Regions from separate parts of the Homo sapiens genome. Here all the other regions are linked to region 4. Evidence: promoter capture Hi-C in human tissues and cell types (Jung and others, 2019). All regions are on one chromosome and are shown on one strand. Each heading gives the region's core, a stretch centred on a gene start or on the middle of the fragment in contact. The rest is flanking DNA. Distances are from core to core; before and after follow the strand shown. Region 1 has its middle 27 kb from the start of BARX2. Region 2 overlaps ST14 (ST14 transmembrane serine protease matriptase). Region 3 overlaps APLP2 (amyloid beta precursor like protein 2). Region 4 holds the start of TMEM45B (transmembrane protein 45B).

Region 1 (4,010 bases), core at 215-2,714, 470 kb before region 4:
CTGCACTCCAGCTTGGGTGACAGAGCGAAACTCCGTCTCAAAACAAACAAACAAACAACAAAAAAACCTCTTATAATTCAATAATGAAAAAAGAACAAAATTTTAAAATGAGCAAAGGATTTGAATAGACACATCTCCAAAGATATACAACTGGCCAATATGCATATGAGAAGATGCCCAACTTCATTAGTCATCAGGGAAATACAAAGTGAAACCACAATGAGATACCACTTCATACTCACTAGGATGACTATCATAAAAAAAAAAAAAGACAGATAATAGCAAGTATTGGTAAGACAGTGGAAAAATTGGAACCCTCATATGTTGCTTATGGTATGTAAAATGGTGCAACTTCTCTGTAAAATAGTTTGGCAGATCATCAAAATGTTAAACATAGAGGTACCATATTACTCAGCACTCCTATATGCCCAAGAGAAATGAAAATATATGTCCACATATATTTGGTCGACACCAAAACTTGTATACTAATGCTCATAGAAGCATTATTAATAATTGCAAACAAGTGAAGAGAGCTTAATGTCCATCAAGTAATGAATGGATTAACAAAATGTGGTAGGTATATCCATAATGGAATATTATTTGGCCATAAAAAAGGAATGAAGTGCTGATACATTCTATAACATGGATGAATCTAGAAAACATTATGCAAAGTAAAAGAAACCAGTCACAAAAGATCATACTGTGATCTTTTGAATCATATTATGAAATCTTATCAGGTGATTTCATTTACATGCAATGTCCAGAACAGGCAAATCTATAGAAACAGAAAGTATATTAATGGTTGCCTCTGTCTGAGGTTAGTGGGAAACAGGGAGTGATTGCTAATGGCTATGGGTTTTTTAGGGGTTGGTTGCGGTGATGAGGAAAATGTTCTAAAATTCATTGGGATGATGGTTGCACAACTCTAATATGTTCAAAAACATTTAATTTACACTTTATTGGGTGCATTGTATGGTATGTGAACTATACCTCAATAAGGCTGTTAAAAAAGAAATACAATGGTGTGGGTTACTGCCATCCTTGAGAATCTCTTTAATGACCAGTTGTCCTCTGTAGACTGTAGATGATGTGGGGAGATGCTGCAATGTAATTAGATTTCTTGATCTCAGTGTGAACAATGAGGGTCTCAAAGTGGGAGAGGCCAGTGGAAATGCTTAAACATCAGACTACGTGGACAACTTTACCCCAAAAGCTACACAATCAGAATAGTAATCAGAGCATCTTGTCTCAAAAAGATGTATAGTGATAGCTAACTAATCATGAGACATGTAAAATGAAATAGATGGACAGCCCACTAAGGTACTGCAAGCATAAATGAAAAAACCCTGGGTCTGTTGGGCATAAATCTAACTTGAGTTGCTGTAGTGGGCATTCATTGCTTCTTTCTTGGTTTCCAGGCCTAAACCACTTCCCAACCACCGGAACCCTTTGACTGGGAATTTGGCCAGGTATTTTTGAGAAAGCACTATGTAACCTTCCACAGTTGTGTACTATGAATCTTAAGTGTTTTCCAGTAGGATCGTCAGCCATTTGCCAGGGCAACTGTGAATTAGGGGAAGGAAGATCCAGGGGCTGTTAGATATTGTCTCTGAACTGATGCTAATACTGAGATTTGAAATGCTGCTATGGTCCACTGGTCTGAAGGGGAACTTATTCCAGACAGATAAATGATGGTGTCTTGCCCTAGTCTGTCTCACTGTGAGTCCATTGGGATTGCAGTCCCGTTCTGTGGTTATTTTCCCAGTCCAAGTGCAGTCATTTCTGCATAACGATGCTGATCAACAGCAGACCATATATATGACTATAGTCCAATAAGATTATAGTGAAGCTGCCCTATACAGATGTACCATTAAAATATTTTATACCCTTTTTTTTAACCATACCTTTTCTATGTTTAGGTAAGTTTAGATATGCAAATACTTACCATTGTGTTACAATTTCTTACAGTGTTCAGTACAGTAACATGCAGTATAGATTTGTATCCTGTATGGCTCTACCACATAGCACAGATGTGTAGTAGGCTACTTCATCCAGCTGGTGTAAGTACACACAATGATGATCCCACAACAGTGAAATTATGTGATGACACATTTCTCAGAACATGTCCCCATAGTTAAGCCATGCATGACTGTATGTATAGCATAGGGAGCAGACATACTTAGTAAGTGGCAGAGTCCTCACATGGGTTTCCTGACCCATAGATTCCTGTAGAGTTTCTCTCAATCTAGATTTTGTTGGCTGAATACTCAGGCACAGTTCAAAATATTCCTCTGTTTTCCTAAACATTTACAGCTGGATACAGAGCTTGATCTCCTTCAGGTTTGATCCCTTCAGCAAGGGTACAGGAAGTGTTGTGGTCTTCATGATGAAGACCATAGGGTCTGGTAGTATCCCGTTTTATAATGTTAGCAGTTGTTGATGCTCAAAGATCAGATCTATTAATTCACTGGGTGTGGCTAAATGATGATATTCTTTTTTTAAGTTCTATCTTATTTTTTGAGATGGGGTCTCGCTCTATTGCCCAGGCCAGAGTGAAGTGGTGGGATCTCGGCTCACTGCAGCTTCCAGCCTCGTGGGATCAAGCGCTCCTCCTGCCTTAGCCTCCCCAGTAGCTGGGACTACAGATGCACACCACCATGCCTGGCTAATTTTTGTATTTTTTGTAGAGATGGGGTTTCACCATGTTGCCCAGGCTGGTATTGAACGCCTGAGCTCAAGCAATCCTCCCACCTCGGCCTCCCAAAGTGCTGGGATTACAGGTGTGAGGCACTGTGCCCACCCAATGGTGATATTCTATCGTTTTTTTTTTTTTTTTTTTACTTATTAGACTCCTTTTATAAGGAGACAGTTCCCCTCGTCTACTATCTGTTACCCAGTGACACAGTTGATATATGAAAGGCAGAGCAAATTTTTGATTCTTTTCTTTTATTTACCAGTTTTCAGTATAATGAATTTGTTCTTTGACATGCTTTAGTTTTCTAAAATATCACTTTGAACTTATAGGTTTGAACATAGTTGAGGAATTCCAGACACTTGCAATTATGTATTTTCCTTTTTGAAGCTCTGAATGTACCTTCTTTTGCCGATAAAAGCTTCTTCAGTTTGATTCCTGATTCTTTCCTTGCAGGATCCTAGCAGTACTTGATAGCTTCCTTGCTATGTAGAAAGACAAGATGTTTTAGGCTCCTCTTGTACATTTCCTTCCCTAGATCTGAAATTCAGCGATTTCTCCAAGAAGCCCTAGTTTCTCTTAGTGGGACATGATGTTTTAAATTGAAGTCTAATGCTCATTGCTACAGGTTAGGTGACTGTTTCTAGACTTCTCTAATAGGGCTAAGTAAGCTTTAGTCCACATTATATACTTTACAGTCATGGAATAACAACACTAAAATGATCACCACATATTTAATTACTGAAAACGAGTTGAAAATGTCCTCATATAGCTGTACTATATTTTCACCCATATGTGATGGTTAGTGTTAGGTGCCAACTTGACCAGATTATGGAATACCCAGATAGCTGGTAAAACACCATTTCTGGGTGTGTCTGTGAGGATGCTCTGGAAGAGATTCTCATTTGAATTAGCGCAGAGTGAGAAGCTCTGCCCTCAACAATGTGGGTGACCATCATCCAATCCGCTTGAGGTCTGGGATGGAACAAAAGGCAGAGGAAGGACACATTTGCTGTCTTTTCTGGAGCCGGGCCATTCACCATCTATCTTCCTCTGCCCTTGGACATTACAGCCCCAGATTCTCAGGCCTTTGGCCTCGGACTGAGAGTCAGACCACTGGCTACTCTGGTTCTCCCATCTTCAAACTTAGTTTAAATTACACCACTGGCTTTCCTGGTTCTCTAGCTTGTGGAAAATATATCATGGGAGTTTTCACCTTCCATAATCAAGTGGGTCAACTCTCACAATTAAAACCCCTCTTATCTAGATCTAGATGTAGATTTAGATCTATTTATCTCTCTGTATATATCTTACGGGT
Region 2 (4,122 bases), core at 1,486-3,985, 390 kb after region 4:
GACGCCCCGAGTTTAATGAACACAAACCACCTGTGTGTTAAGTGTGATGAGAAAGGGCTCTGGTTGGGGGAGAATTTTCCAGAAGGTGGAGAACCTGTAGCAGGGCAGGGAGGCCAGTGGGCGTGGGTGGGGCAGGCCTGGGTGAGGGGGTAATGTGCAGGGGCCATGAGGCGCCATTGGTGGTTTCTGGCTTCTGGTCGGATGCTGCAGAGGAATTGAGCCCCTCCCTTGTCCTCCTCCTTGAACAGTGAACGTCGTCACTTGTACCAAACACACCTACCGCTGCCTCAATGGGCTCTGCTTGAGCAAGGGCAACCCTGAGTGTGACGGGAAGGAGGACTGTAGCGACGGCTCAGATGAGAAGGACTGCGGTGAGCAGGGCATCCGAGTACGGTTGTGCAGGTTGTTCACTGTGTGAAGTGCCCACCAGAGGGTGCACCTGGAGGTGCAATCCCGCCAGCACCTCACTTAGCAGCTCTGTGCTTGGGTGAGAGGGTGTGTCTCCTGGAGGAAAGGATAGCCTTGCCAGTTGGCATGAAGGCACCACCCCACGGGCTGGCTCTGGTCTTGGAGAAAGGCCCGTACGGCCAGCATCTCAGCGCCTCTGTAGCATGGCGGGGTCGTGGCTGCAGTGCGTTGCTGGCCCCTGCTGTGTAGACACAGCTGTGGAGCAGTAGCCTGGAGAAGAGCGGCCCAGCTCACCCAAGCCCAAGGCAGGGTGTCACCCCTGCCTGCCCATACTTTAATCTGCAGCCTCTGTGTTTCAGAAGCGTTGGCTGGCCACAGGTTAGATTTGAGCACAGCTCCAGCGTTCTGTGACCTCACATCAGCGGTTCATTCGTCCCTCTCAGAGCTGTGGCCTTCAGCATTCAAAGGCGCTTCTCCCTGCTCCATGCTGCCCCCTCCCCTGTGATGTCCCAAATGATGTCAAGTCAGGCAGATGACACCCAAATCAAAGTGAAGCTGACCAGCCAGCCTCCGGAGGCCCTCGCTGCATTTGTGAGGGAGGGGGAGGTGGGAAGATGAGGGTTTGAATTTGGGAGCGGGGAGAAGGAGGGGCATGGTGGAAGGGAGTCTGTGAAGCTCAAAGATAGTTTTGGGGGTCCCTCACGCCCTGGCCACGCCAGCAGTGCTGTGCACGCCAAAAGCTGGCTTCCCCACACAGGGTCTCCTGGCACACACTGCATGTCCCCTTGTGGTTTGATGTCCCCACCTTGACTTGCTGTCCTCTGGTTCTCTGCTCCCTCTGCAGACTGTGGGCTGCGGTCATTCACGAGACAGGCTCGTGTTGTTGGGGGCACGGATGCGGATGAGGGCGAGTGGCCCTGGCAGGTAAGCCTGCATGCTCTGGGCCAGGGCCACATCTGCGGTGCTTCCCTCATCTCTCCCAACTGGCTGGTCTCTGCCGCACACTGCTACATCGATGACAGAGGATTCAGGTGGGTCTCTGGGTGGGCAGCAGGGAGCCTCCTTGCTGGCCCTTTGCATCTGGGAGTAATGCCAGGATAGGTTGGCACCGAGGCAGGGCACTGGAGGGGTGGCCACATGTGTTAGTCCATTCTTGAGTTGCTCTAAAGAAATACCTGAGACTGGGTCATTTATAAAGAAAAGAGTTTATTTGGCCCATGGTTCTGCAGGCTGTATAGGAAGCGTGGTGCCAGCCTCTGCTTCTGGTGAGGGCCTCAGGGAGCTTCCATCCATGGCAGAAGGTGAAGGGGGAGAAGGCACATCACATGGCGAGAACAGGAGCAAGAGAGAGCAGGAGGAGGTCCTAGACTCTTAAGCAGCCAGCCTCGTGTGAACTCAGAACTCACCCATCACCATGGGAAGGGCACCAAAACATTCATGAGGGAACCGTGACCAAAACACCTCCTACCACGCCCCACCTCCAACACTGGGGATCCCATTTCAACATGAGATTTGGAGGGGACAAGCATCCAAACCAAATGAGCAGATATCCCAGGACGGGGCTCAATAACAGTAATAATAAAAACTCACTGTATTCGGTGCCCACTTGCAGCCAAGTGCTGTCTCTGTGCCTCTCCTAAAACCCCCTAGCAAGTTAGGCAGCTTGATTGTATCCTCACTACAGAAAGTAAGGTTCAGAGAAGTAGGGACGTTTGCTTGGGGTGGCACAGCTGTTAAGTGGCAGAGCCAGACTTGAGCACAGGTGTGGTCTCCGGTGAGTCTGCACTGTGCAACTCCTCGGATTGGCCAACGTGAGCTTTGGATTCATGCTCCAGCTCTGGCTTGCCGGTGGCCCTGGGCAGGTTATTCAAACTTCCTAGGCCTTGGGTTCTTCACCAATGATAGTGACAGTATCAGCTCCCACCCTTAGAGTTGTGAGAATTAAATACAATGCTGTACTTGAGACACTTTGCGCTGTGCCTGGCACATAGTAGGTGCTCAGCATGTCATGGCCTCAGACACACAGACAGATGAGAGGCCTGGAAGGGTCACATGGGCATCCCAGGAACAGGGGCACAATGCCGGGCTGCGCTATTTGTGTCTTAGCTCCTGGCCTCTCTGGGCGTCTGGCTGTTGGCTGAAGGAAGGAGTGTTAGGGCCTGGCTTGCCCTGAAGAGGCAGGCACAGGGGCATGGGCCTTCCAGGAGAATCCAACCTCGGAAGAAGGGGATGCGCTTTCTGCTGGCTGCACGCTTTTCCATGGTAGGCAGCTCCAGGAGCAGGTGACCCAAGCCCTCAGCTGCCCTTTGCAGGGAGGAGAGATGGGCCCACAGCAGGAGGGAGGCCTGAGGCACAGATGGAGTGTGCTCAGACCCATGCACAGGGCTTGGGTGATGGAGATGGACAGCAAGAGCCTGTGGGGAGTGGACCCAGTTCCATGGTCCCCAGCTTCGCTGGGTGCTTGACACGTGGCTTTGTCCAGCCTGAGGCTGTCCCTTGTCTCACTGTGTCACCCAGGCTGAAGTTCAGTGGTGCAAATCATAGCTTGCTACAGTCTTGAACTCCTGGGCTTGAGCAATCCTCCTGCTTCAGCCTCCTGAGTAGCTGGGACTACAGGCACATGCCACCATGCCCAGCTAGTTTAAAATTTTTGTAGAGACAGAGCCTTGCTAAGTTGCTAAGCTTGGCCTCCACCTCCTAGGCTGAAGTGATCCTCCCATCTTGGCCTCCCAAAGTGCTGGCATTACAGATGTGAGCCACCATGCCTGGCCCAACCACTTCTCTTTGAGGTTGGCTTTTGTGCCTCTTTGATATGCCCCATTCTTTCCTTTTTTGAGCCATGTCCTTGCTTTCTGGCACTACCAGGTACAATAGGCTCATCTTATGTTTCCCCAGCCCAGCCCTAGGACCAGCCATTTCTCCAAGGAGTCCTTTACTGGGAATGGTATTTAGAGACCAAGGTCCGGTTGCTTAGTGTGTTCATTGTCACCATGGTGTCATGTCCAGGCCCAGTTAGCAGGTAGAGCTAGGAAATGGCTGGGTGCATACTAAGAACTGCCCTGCCATCCTGCACTGCTTCCTCTTTTCCTTTGCTTCGTTGCTTTCTTTCTCATTTCCTTCTCCTTCATCGTGTGTTGATCATCAGTCATGCTTCTGCCAACGAGTAGTGCAATTAATCTTCAACACCCCTGGTTACTATTGACACTAGAGAGACCAACATGAATAGGACTTGGTCCCTGCAGATTGTGGGTCACAGACTTGTAAGGGTAGGGACAAGACATGACACACATGTGCAGTAAGTGCTGTGGCAGGGCTGTGTCCAGGCTCCCTTGGGCCCAGCATGTGGAGTTTAGAATTCTAAACCCATATGCCTGAGGGACTCGGGGGGTGACTGTTGGGAACACTCAACATGGGTGTCTGAACTGAGGGTTGAAGGTGAGGGTGTCTGTCAGCTGGACCAGGTGGCTCAGACCTTCCAGACAAAGGGAGTGTCGTGTGCAGAGGCAGGGAGGTGTGAGATGTGCAGGGGCATGGTGTCAAGGGACCCTGAGCACATGGCTAAGTCATCATGCATTCATTGGGCACTGCCGGGAGGCGGCATCACGTTGCGGTTAAATGCACAGGCTGCCTAGGTTGCAGTTGTGGTCTACAGCGTGTTAGCTATATGATCTTCGGCAAGTTGCCCTCTCTGTGCTTGAGTCCTCATCTTAAAAA
Region 3 (3,751 bases), core at 1,199-3,698, 320 kb after region 4:
GTTGATGTGTTGATAAGAGAAAAACAGATAGTAAAACAAGAAAATAAGTGTCAGCTGGTGATAGGTGCTGTGCAGTGTGAAAACTCGGGCAGAGTGCTAGAGAGTGGCCAGTCGGGGCGGCTGCCTCTGGGGACGGTGGCCTGAGATCCGAATGGTAAGATCACAGCGGGAGAGCACGTTGGTAGCAGAGGGAGCGGCAGCTACAAAGGCCCCAGGTGGAAGTCAGGCATCACATTTGAGTAGATCAGTGTGGCTACAACATAGCAAAGGGGATGTGGCCAAAGTATGCAGGGACCAGATGAGGAAGAAATTTCAGCAAAATCAAGGAGTTTGGATTTTATTCTAGGATAATGGGAAGCCGTTAGAGGATTTTCAGCTAGGGAAAGACTAGATCTGGATTATGAATTTTTAAAAGCTCACTTGGCTGCTGTGTGTAGTCGATTAAAATTAGAAACCAGCCAGGAAGCGATTTTAGAAATTCAGGAGAGAGCTGTTGGGAGTATGCACTGAAGGGGTGACGGGGTAGGAGAAGGAGCACCCCAGGGACAGCTGGGGATGGTCTGTAGGATGTGTTCTGGTGGGAGTGTGTGGGGCTGCGCCCAGGGCTGCGTGTGGGGTTGGGGGAGCGGCATCAAGAAGTGCACTTAGGGTTCCACTGGGAGCAGCTCGGGGATGGTGGTACCATGGCTGACTGAGGTGGAGAAGGAAATCCGGAGCTCTCTTGATACATGTTAAGATAGAAATTTCTGTTGGATGTTATGTGGGGATGTAGGATTTAGGTGAGGCAGAGGTCAGGCAGTAGGTCCAGGATTCGGGCCTGGGAGTCATGGTATATGGTCAGTATTTAAAACTGGCGTCGGGGAGAAGTAGGTCAGAGGGTATGAAGTGGTAGTTGTAGTTACGTGGGGTGGATACGTCTAGAGATGGGATGGACAGCATGAGGACTGTAGTTAGTAATATCGTACTATATACTAAAAATTTGCCGAGAGTAGATTTGAGGTATTCTTATTTTTAAAAAAAAGTAATTCTGGAAGGTGATGTGTGTGTTTGCTTGACTATGGAAATCATTTCATGGTGTATATGTATATCAAAGCATTATATTTTAGACCTTAAATATGTACAATTTTTTAAACCCCCAAAATCTGTGGAGTTGTGGATACCACTTAACTGGAGTGTGGAGGTGGATGCAGGGGTGCCTGGGACGGCGCCCTGGGGTCCCTGGTGTTGGGGCTCTGTGGTGCCACAGAATCAAGGAAGGTGTTTCAGGCAGGAACTGGGAGCCACAGTGGGGTCTTGGAGCTCTAGAGCATCCTGTGCCTGGACACCAGGCCCTTCTGAAGCCTGCTTTCTGTCCCCTGCCCTGTCTTCATCAGATGAGCTCCTTCAGGAGCAGCGTGCAGATATGGACCAGTTCACTGCCTCAATCTCAGAGACCCCTGTGGACGTCCGGGTGAGCTCTGAGGAGAGTGAGGAGATCCCACCGTTCCACCCCTTCCACCCCTTCCCAGCCCTACCTGAGAACGAAGGTGTGTATGGGCGACGGTGCCACTTCTGGGCAGCAGGGGGAGGACAAAATGAGAGAATTGAAGTCAGTTTTTCGAAAACCAAATTGAGTTGGGAGATGGTGTTCCTGCGAGAGTCAGGGGAAGGGAGACTGGATTCATTGAGCGCCTACTGTGTGCAAGGACCCTGCTAGATGCTTTCAAATCATTGGTGTCAATGTCACCATGAAGTTAAGACTAATTCTCCCATTTCAAGATGGGTGGCTTCAAACCCCCACTTCTTCCAACTTGTGCACTTCCTTACATGGGGGAGGCACTTGGCAGTTGAAACAGCGCCTTCCTGTTATGGTGTTACCTTTGCCCAGCCGTCTTGGGAGGTAGGTGCTGGAGAGGCTGAGGAGGTGACAGGGCTGGCGTGGGTCATATCTCTGACATGAGGTGGGGATAAGAAGCTGTTCCTCTGGGTCCTAGGCAGACGTTCTTTCCTCTATTCCCCTGCTGGTTCTCAGTGTCTAAGAGGATCTCTAAAAGCTGTGAGTCTGCTCCAGAAATAAACAAGTTGCTGAGACCAGTGCCCTGAGAGCCGTCCCCCTCATCAGTTCTGTTTGTTGCTGTTGCTGCTGACAGGGTAATGATAAGAATGGCCCACAGCTATGCCGTAGTCCTTGTTATATGCCAGCTTTAGCTAAGCATCTCAGCGGATGCTCTCCATCCTCACAGTAACCCTCGCAGGTGGGTAGTCGAGTGTCCCCATGTGGGGATTCTGAGGTATAAAGAGATTAAGTAACTTGCCCGAGGTCATGTAGCTTATAAGTGGAGAGTCAGGGGTCGAATCCAAGCTGATCTGGTCCTGCAGTCACAGACCTGACTGGATATAGCACTGGAACAGAGGCCTCAGGAAGGCATCAAATTAGGGGTGGGGGGATGGAGGTACATCCAGCTTAGCCTTCAGACCTTAATGGAAATGCTTTCTAAACTAGCGATCCCAGAGCAGTTGACTCTCCAGAAATAAAACAGGATCTGAGGAAGTGGCAGATAGATGAAAAGGCGCCATGCCACCCGCAAATCTCCGTGGGTTTTTGGGGTGGTAGATGAAGAGGCACCATGCTATCCCCAAATCTCTGTGGGTTTGTCGGGTGGCCATGCTTGGACAACTTCTTATGTGCTTGTTGGGGGTCGGGGCAGCTTGGATATACCTGAACTAGGACCTTATCTCCCTGTCAGCAAACCACAACCAACACTTAACTTCAATTTTCACTTTTTTCTAAGAAAAATAATTATGTGGGCTAAGCTAAATAGTGCAGGCATCTCCCAGTTTCCCTAAAAAGGCACAAGACAGACCTACTTTTTTCTCTCTTATCAAGGATACCCTCCAGTGATTTGCTGTGGCTCATACTGCTGGTTTGTTTATGGGATATTTCAGGCAGGGTGTTTTTAAGGAGGAATACTTTTTGTTCACATTATAGAGAAATTCTAAGATAGAAATTTTAAAAGAAGCCATTTTCTTTTTTAATCTCCTTTTGTGCTATTTTATTTTGTTTTTTATTGTTTTCCTTTCTGCTAGACACTCAGCCGGAGTTGTACCACCCAATGAAAAAAGGTTGGTTTGTCCAAGATGTTCCCTTTAAGACCTTCATTCCTCTCCACTCCCTAGTGTGTCCGAAGCTTCATGTTCTGTTTCATGCCATCACCTGGCTTTCCCCACCTCATTCCTTCTGACACGGCTGTGAGTGGGGTCAGAGCAGCCCCACCTCCATGTTGCTGACAAGCTGACCTGACTCCAGCACTCTGAGGCCAGTTTCCATGGTGTTGGTTACCTCGTGGTCATGCTAAGCTTTCCCTCTGGGATGTCAGAGAATGCACAGCAACCAAAATAGATTTCATGACCCTTTTAATCTGGGTAGATTTTTAGAAGTATATCCAACTTAGGTTGGTTGTGAACTGCTGTCTCCGTATAAATATGCCTTATTTACAGTCAGGTGGAGAGTCGTTCTCTTTTCCCTCTTTTTCTCTGCAATTCCCATTTACATCTTTTCTTTTTGGCTCTCCTCGCCCTTTGTCTGTGCCAGTTGTCTCATGTCCCCTGAGTTGTATATTCCTCAGAACATCGGAAGCCAATGGATCAAACAGCTGGAGACAACCCAGCTCACTGTACTGAGTCTCCAGTTTTCAAAAAGAGTTAACGTTCCGTAAAGCACTATGTGGAATGCTTTGCATTCTTGTCCCCATCTTAGTCCACTGAACGTCCC
Region 4 (3,961 bases), core at 497-2,996:
TTCCTGGTCCCGGTCCTGCCGCGGACCTTCACGGCATTATAGTTCTTAAACATGGTGTGTCCGGAGTTTGTTCCTTCAAATGTTCAGGTGTGTCCGAAGTTTTTTCTTTCTAGAGAGTTCGTGGTCTATGCACGACTTGATGAGTGAGGCCGCGGACCTTCGCAGGGAGTGTTACAGCTCTTAAAGGTGGCGCATCCGCGTTGTTCCTTCCTCCCAGCGGGTTCGTAGTTTCGCCGACCTCAGGAGTGAAGCCACAGACCTTCGCAGGGAGTGTTACACCTCTTAAAAGTGGTGCGTCTGGAGTTGTTTGCTCCTCCCTGTGGGTTCGTGGTGTCGCTGACTTCAGGAGTGAAGCCACAGACCTTCACAGTGAGTGTTATGGCTCTTAAAGGTGGCGGCTCCAGAGTTGTTTCTTGTGGTGGCTTCCTGGTCTCGCTGGTTTACAGGAGTGAACCTGCAGACCTTCACTGTGAGTGTTAAAGCTCATAAAGGTAGTGTGGACCTAAAAGGTGAGCAACAGCAAAATTTATTGCAAAGAGCGAAACAACAAAACCCCAACACCATCGAAGGGGACCCAAACGCAGCTGCCGCTGGCTCGGATGGCCAGCTTTTATTCCCTCATTGGCCCCGCCCACATCCTCCTGATTGGTCCTGCCCACATCCTCCTGATTGGTCCATTTTACAGAGCGCTGATTGGTCCATTTTACAGAGTGCTGATTGGTCCATTTTACAGAGTGCTGATTGGTCCGTTTTTACAGAGTGCTGATTGATGTGTTTACAAACCTTTAGCTAGACATAGAGCATTGATTGGTGCATTTACAATCCTTTGGCTAGAGAGAAAAGTTCTCCAAGTCCCCACCAATTAGCTGGACACAGAGCACTGATTGGTGCATTTTTACAGAGTGCTGATTGGTGTGTTTACAAACCTTTAGCTAGACACAGAGTGCAGATTGATGCTTTTACAATCCTTTAGCTAGACAGAAAAGTTCTCCAAGTCCCCATCCGACCCAGAAGCCCAGCGGGTTTCACCTCTCAGTAGCTTACAGAAGAGGACCCTGCTGCCACAGCACAATACCACAAAGAAAGTCATGCTCTCCTCAGCAGGTAGCCCCCTTCTCCGGGACAGGAACTTTGTTTCCTTCTTAGCTCTATCGCCAGCACCTAGAACAGTGCCCACCTGTCAGATCTGTTATCAGATGGGAACATGGCAGATTTGTTGAATGAATGAAGGAATGAATGAACTATGTGACACTCAAACTTAGCCACCAAACTTAAACTAAAAAAACTGGGTTGTGGTCCCTGATGGACCGTTGGCACCTTCTTCCTTTGCTGGACGGTGATCCGTGGCTGTTTCTGCGGTGTGTTCGCAGTGGTTGCCTGGCTTGGTAACAAACACTCTTCGGAGCCACAGCCTGTTCTCAGGGTCCTCGCCGCCTCCCAGGCCCTGCGATCTCTTTGCATCTCAGGAGGTCCAGGTTGGTTGCAGTCCTCTTGGGTGACTCAGGAACCAGCCTCTCCTGAAGCACACAGCTTAGGGAGTTCCTGAGGCCAGAGACATCTCCACGGGAAAGTCAAAGGCCTGGAGGAAGTGCGGACCTGACGACAGATGCCCCGCACGCTGGCCGGGACCGGGAAGGGCGGTCAAGGGTGGAAAGGGGCTGGCGGCTGCCAGGCCTGGCGGAGTGGAGCGGGGCGGGGCGCAGCGGGGCGGGGCGGGCCTGGAGCTGCACCTGCTTCTGGGCGGACGCACTTGGCGCGCGGCGCGGGCTGCAGACGGCTGCGAGGCGCTGGGCACAGGTCAGACGTCCGTACCCGCAGGGGGCTCGAACCTGGAGGAGGGCTCGAAGGGAGAGGGGGCCCCGCCAAGGAGCGGGGCTGTGATGGAGAGGAGGTTCCGACTCGCAGGGGACCTGCGGGGGAGGGGACGCGGACAGGGAGGGGCTCTGGGACAGGGGTGAAGGCTGCGCTAGGGGAGGACGGGAGGGGATGGAGGGCCCTGGTGTCGCGGAAGCCCAGCTGGGGCCCCCTCCGGGCTGCGGAACCGGTGCGCACACTACTCCCACCGCCCCCGAGTGCCTCTGTCCGGCTGGCCGCGGCCCTGGAACGAATATTGCTCAGTCCCCCGCGAGTCAGGTCTGCCGCGTTGCCCGGTGAGGGGAAGGTGTGAAGCCCCGGGCCTCCGTCTGCCCGGTGAGTCCGGGGACGCGCGCCCCCGGGGATGCCATCTGGCTCCTGGGCTGTGACCAGTCACAGCTCACATAGCTCTGGGCACTGGTACCGACTGCCTTTCCTTGTTAGCTGCGATACACAAATACACGAGCCAGATCCTTTCCTGAGGCCAGGAAGCCTGGAATCTAATAACACCGGGCGGTGGATAAAGTCCCCCGAGCCAGTGCTTAGCTTCCGTTAATGGAGCCATGGATGGAAGCGGATGTCAGGCGCAGTGGGGGAGAAATTTGCGGGGGTGGCCCTGTCTAGGGCCAGAGAAACAACCTCTGAAGCTTTGATCCAGCCCTAGAGGGAAGAAAGATGTGAGTTTCAGCCAGGGAAACGTAGCACTTTAAGAAATAGAAACCCTTTCAAAATTTGAGGGCAGGTAGCTCTCCTAAAAGTTGCAGAAATGGCCACTTCTTTTTTTTTTTTTTTTTTTTTTTGAGACGGAGTCTCGCTCTGTCGCCCAGGCTGGAGTGCAGTGGCGCAATCTCGGATCACTGCAAGCTCCACCTCCCGGGTTCACACCATTCTCCTGCCTCAGCCTCCCGAGTAGCTAGGACTACTGGCGCCCGCCACCACGCCCGGCTAATTTTTTGTATTTTTTTTTTTTTTGGTAGAGACGGGGTTTCACCGTGTTAGCCAGGATGGTCTCGATCTCCTGACCTCATGATCCACCCGCCTCAGCCTCCCAAAGTGCTGGGATTACAGGCGTGAACCACCGCGCCCAGCTAGAAATGGCCACTTCTTTCACGTTCTCTTCGACCGCTTTCTGCGGTGTCTGCCCTTTTCCTCCTCCTGCACCTTTTTGTCTCCTAGGGTCGCATAGCCTTCCAAACAGGCCTGCCTACAGCATTTTACCTGCAATTTTACACTCATTTTAATAGAAAGGATGGCTTATTGTTCATGAGAGACGTGTACTGTTTTTAACCAGATGTGTAATATCTTCAGTATAACCTGGATGTTGTGCAGTGGGAAGTTATGGAAAGAATCAGGACACGTGGTTAGGTAGGGGCCCAGGGGCGTCAGACTTAGCTCTTTGTGACAGTGAGCTTCTTGGTTTAATAAGGATATTGGCTCCCTCTGTTCCTGGGGTTTCTGGGAAAAGATATGGAACTGATATGAAGGTTTTATTGAATATGGCCCACTGATTTTACAAGTGGAGGTGACTGAGATAAGCAGAAGGTGAGGCATGACCTCTGGCTGTGCATTATTTGTTCTGATATTACAGGAGCCAAGCATTCCATTTCCTTCTTTTTAAAGAGCTTTGATTTCCTCTCACATCTTCATGAAGATGGAAACAGTGCCCCCACTTACTTATCCTCAGGCCACACCTGTTCCCATTTATTCCATGAGTTCCTCCCACACCCTTCTGGTTGATGTTGGTTGTGATGGTCGAGGTAATTGAATCTCACATTTGGCACCAGTTATTTCTGTTTCTCATCTCCCCCCTACCTGCAGTTAAACATCAGCTGCTATACTTAACTGTTCAAAGTACAGATGTTACCTGTGTTGGGTGTAATCAAAAGATTATCTCTTTTCCTCAAATGAAAAATGGGTGAGGACAGTTTCACCACACATAGAGTCACTCCCCTAGCCAAAGTCCTTGCTATTGCAAAACTTTTTACTGTAAGAGAATTAAAGTCACTAGTGTGTCATCAACTAATGGTACTTATAGACACATTCCATATTTGTTTCTATAGAAAGATCATAAGACAAACACTAGATTATTCCCAGTATGAGACCATAC

Evidence for each region. The method cuts DNA at HindIII sites, captures the fragments that hold promoters and counts their contacts. A contact is called where the count stands out against the background at its distance.
Region 1: a contact is called between a fragment that was not itself captured here and the fragment with the promoter of TMEM45B in region 4, in 1 of the 25 tissues and cell types used here (dorsolateral prefrontal cortex).
Region 2: a fragment that was not itself captured here is called in contact with the fragment with the promoter of TMEM45B in region 4 in 1 of the 25 tissues and cell types used here (pancreas).
Region 3: a contact is called between a fragment that was not itself captured here and the fragment with the promoter of TMEM45B in region 4, in 1 of the 25 tissues and cell types used here (H1 embryonic stem cells).

Annotation. Positions count from the first base shown.
Region 1 is chr11:129,346,908-129,350,917 of GRCh38, forward strand. No RefSeq gene overlaps it. Among named protein-coding and RNA genes, the nearest start is that of BARX2, 27 kb to the right of the region's middle. The HindIII fragment of the contact is 3,548 bases long and covers 1-3,238 here.
Region 2 is chr11:130,198,699-130,202,820 of GRCh38, forward strand. ST14 (ST14 transmembrane serine protease matriptase) reads left to right here. Exons shown (of 19, transcript NM_021978.4): 15 at 249-371; 16 at 1,253-1,439. Among named protein-coding and RNA genes, the nearest start is that of ST14, 41 kb to the left of the region's middle. The HindIII fragment of the contact is 6,598 bases long and covers 1-4,122 here.
Region 3 is chr11:130,134,190-130,137,940 of GRCh38, forward strand. It overlaps APLP2 (amyloid beta precursor like protein 2), which reads left to right. Exons shown (of 17, transcript NM_001142276.2): 13 at 1,374-1,526. Among named protein-coding and RNA genes, the nearest start is that of ST14, 24 kb to the right of the region's middle. The HindIII fragment of the contact is 3,426 bases long and covers 736-3,751 here.
Region 4 is chr11:129,814,102-129,818,062 of GRCh38, forward strand. TMEM45B (transmembrane protein 45B) reads left to right here and starts at 1,747. Exons shown (of 6, transcript NM_138788.5): 1 at 1,747-1,797. LOC124902793 (a long non-coding RNA gene) reads right to left here and starts at 586. Exons shown (of 2, transcript XR_007062952.1): 1 at 1-586. The HindIII fragment of the contact is 7,942 bases long and covers 1-3,264 here.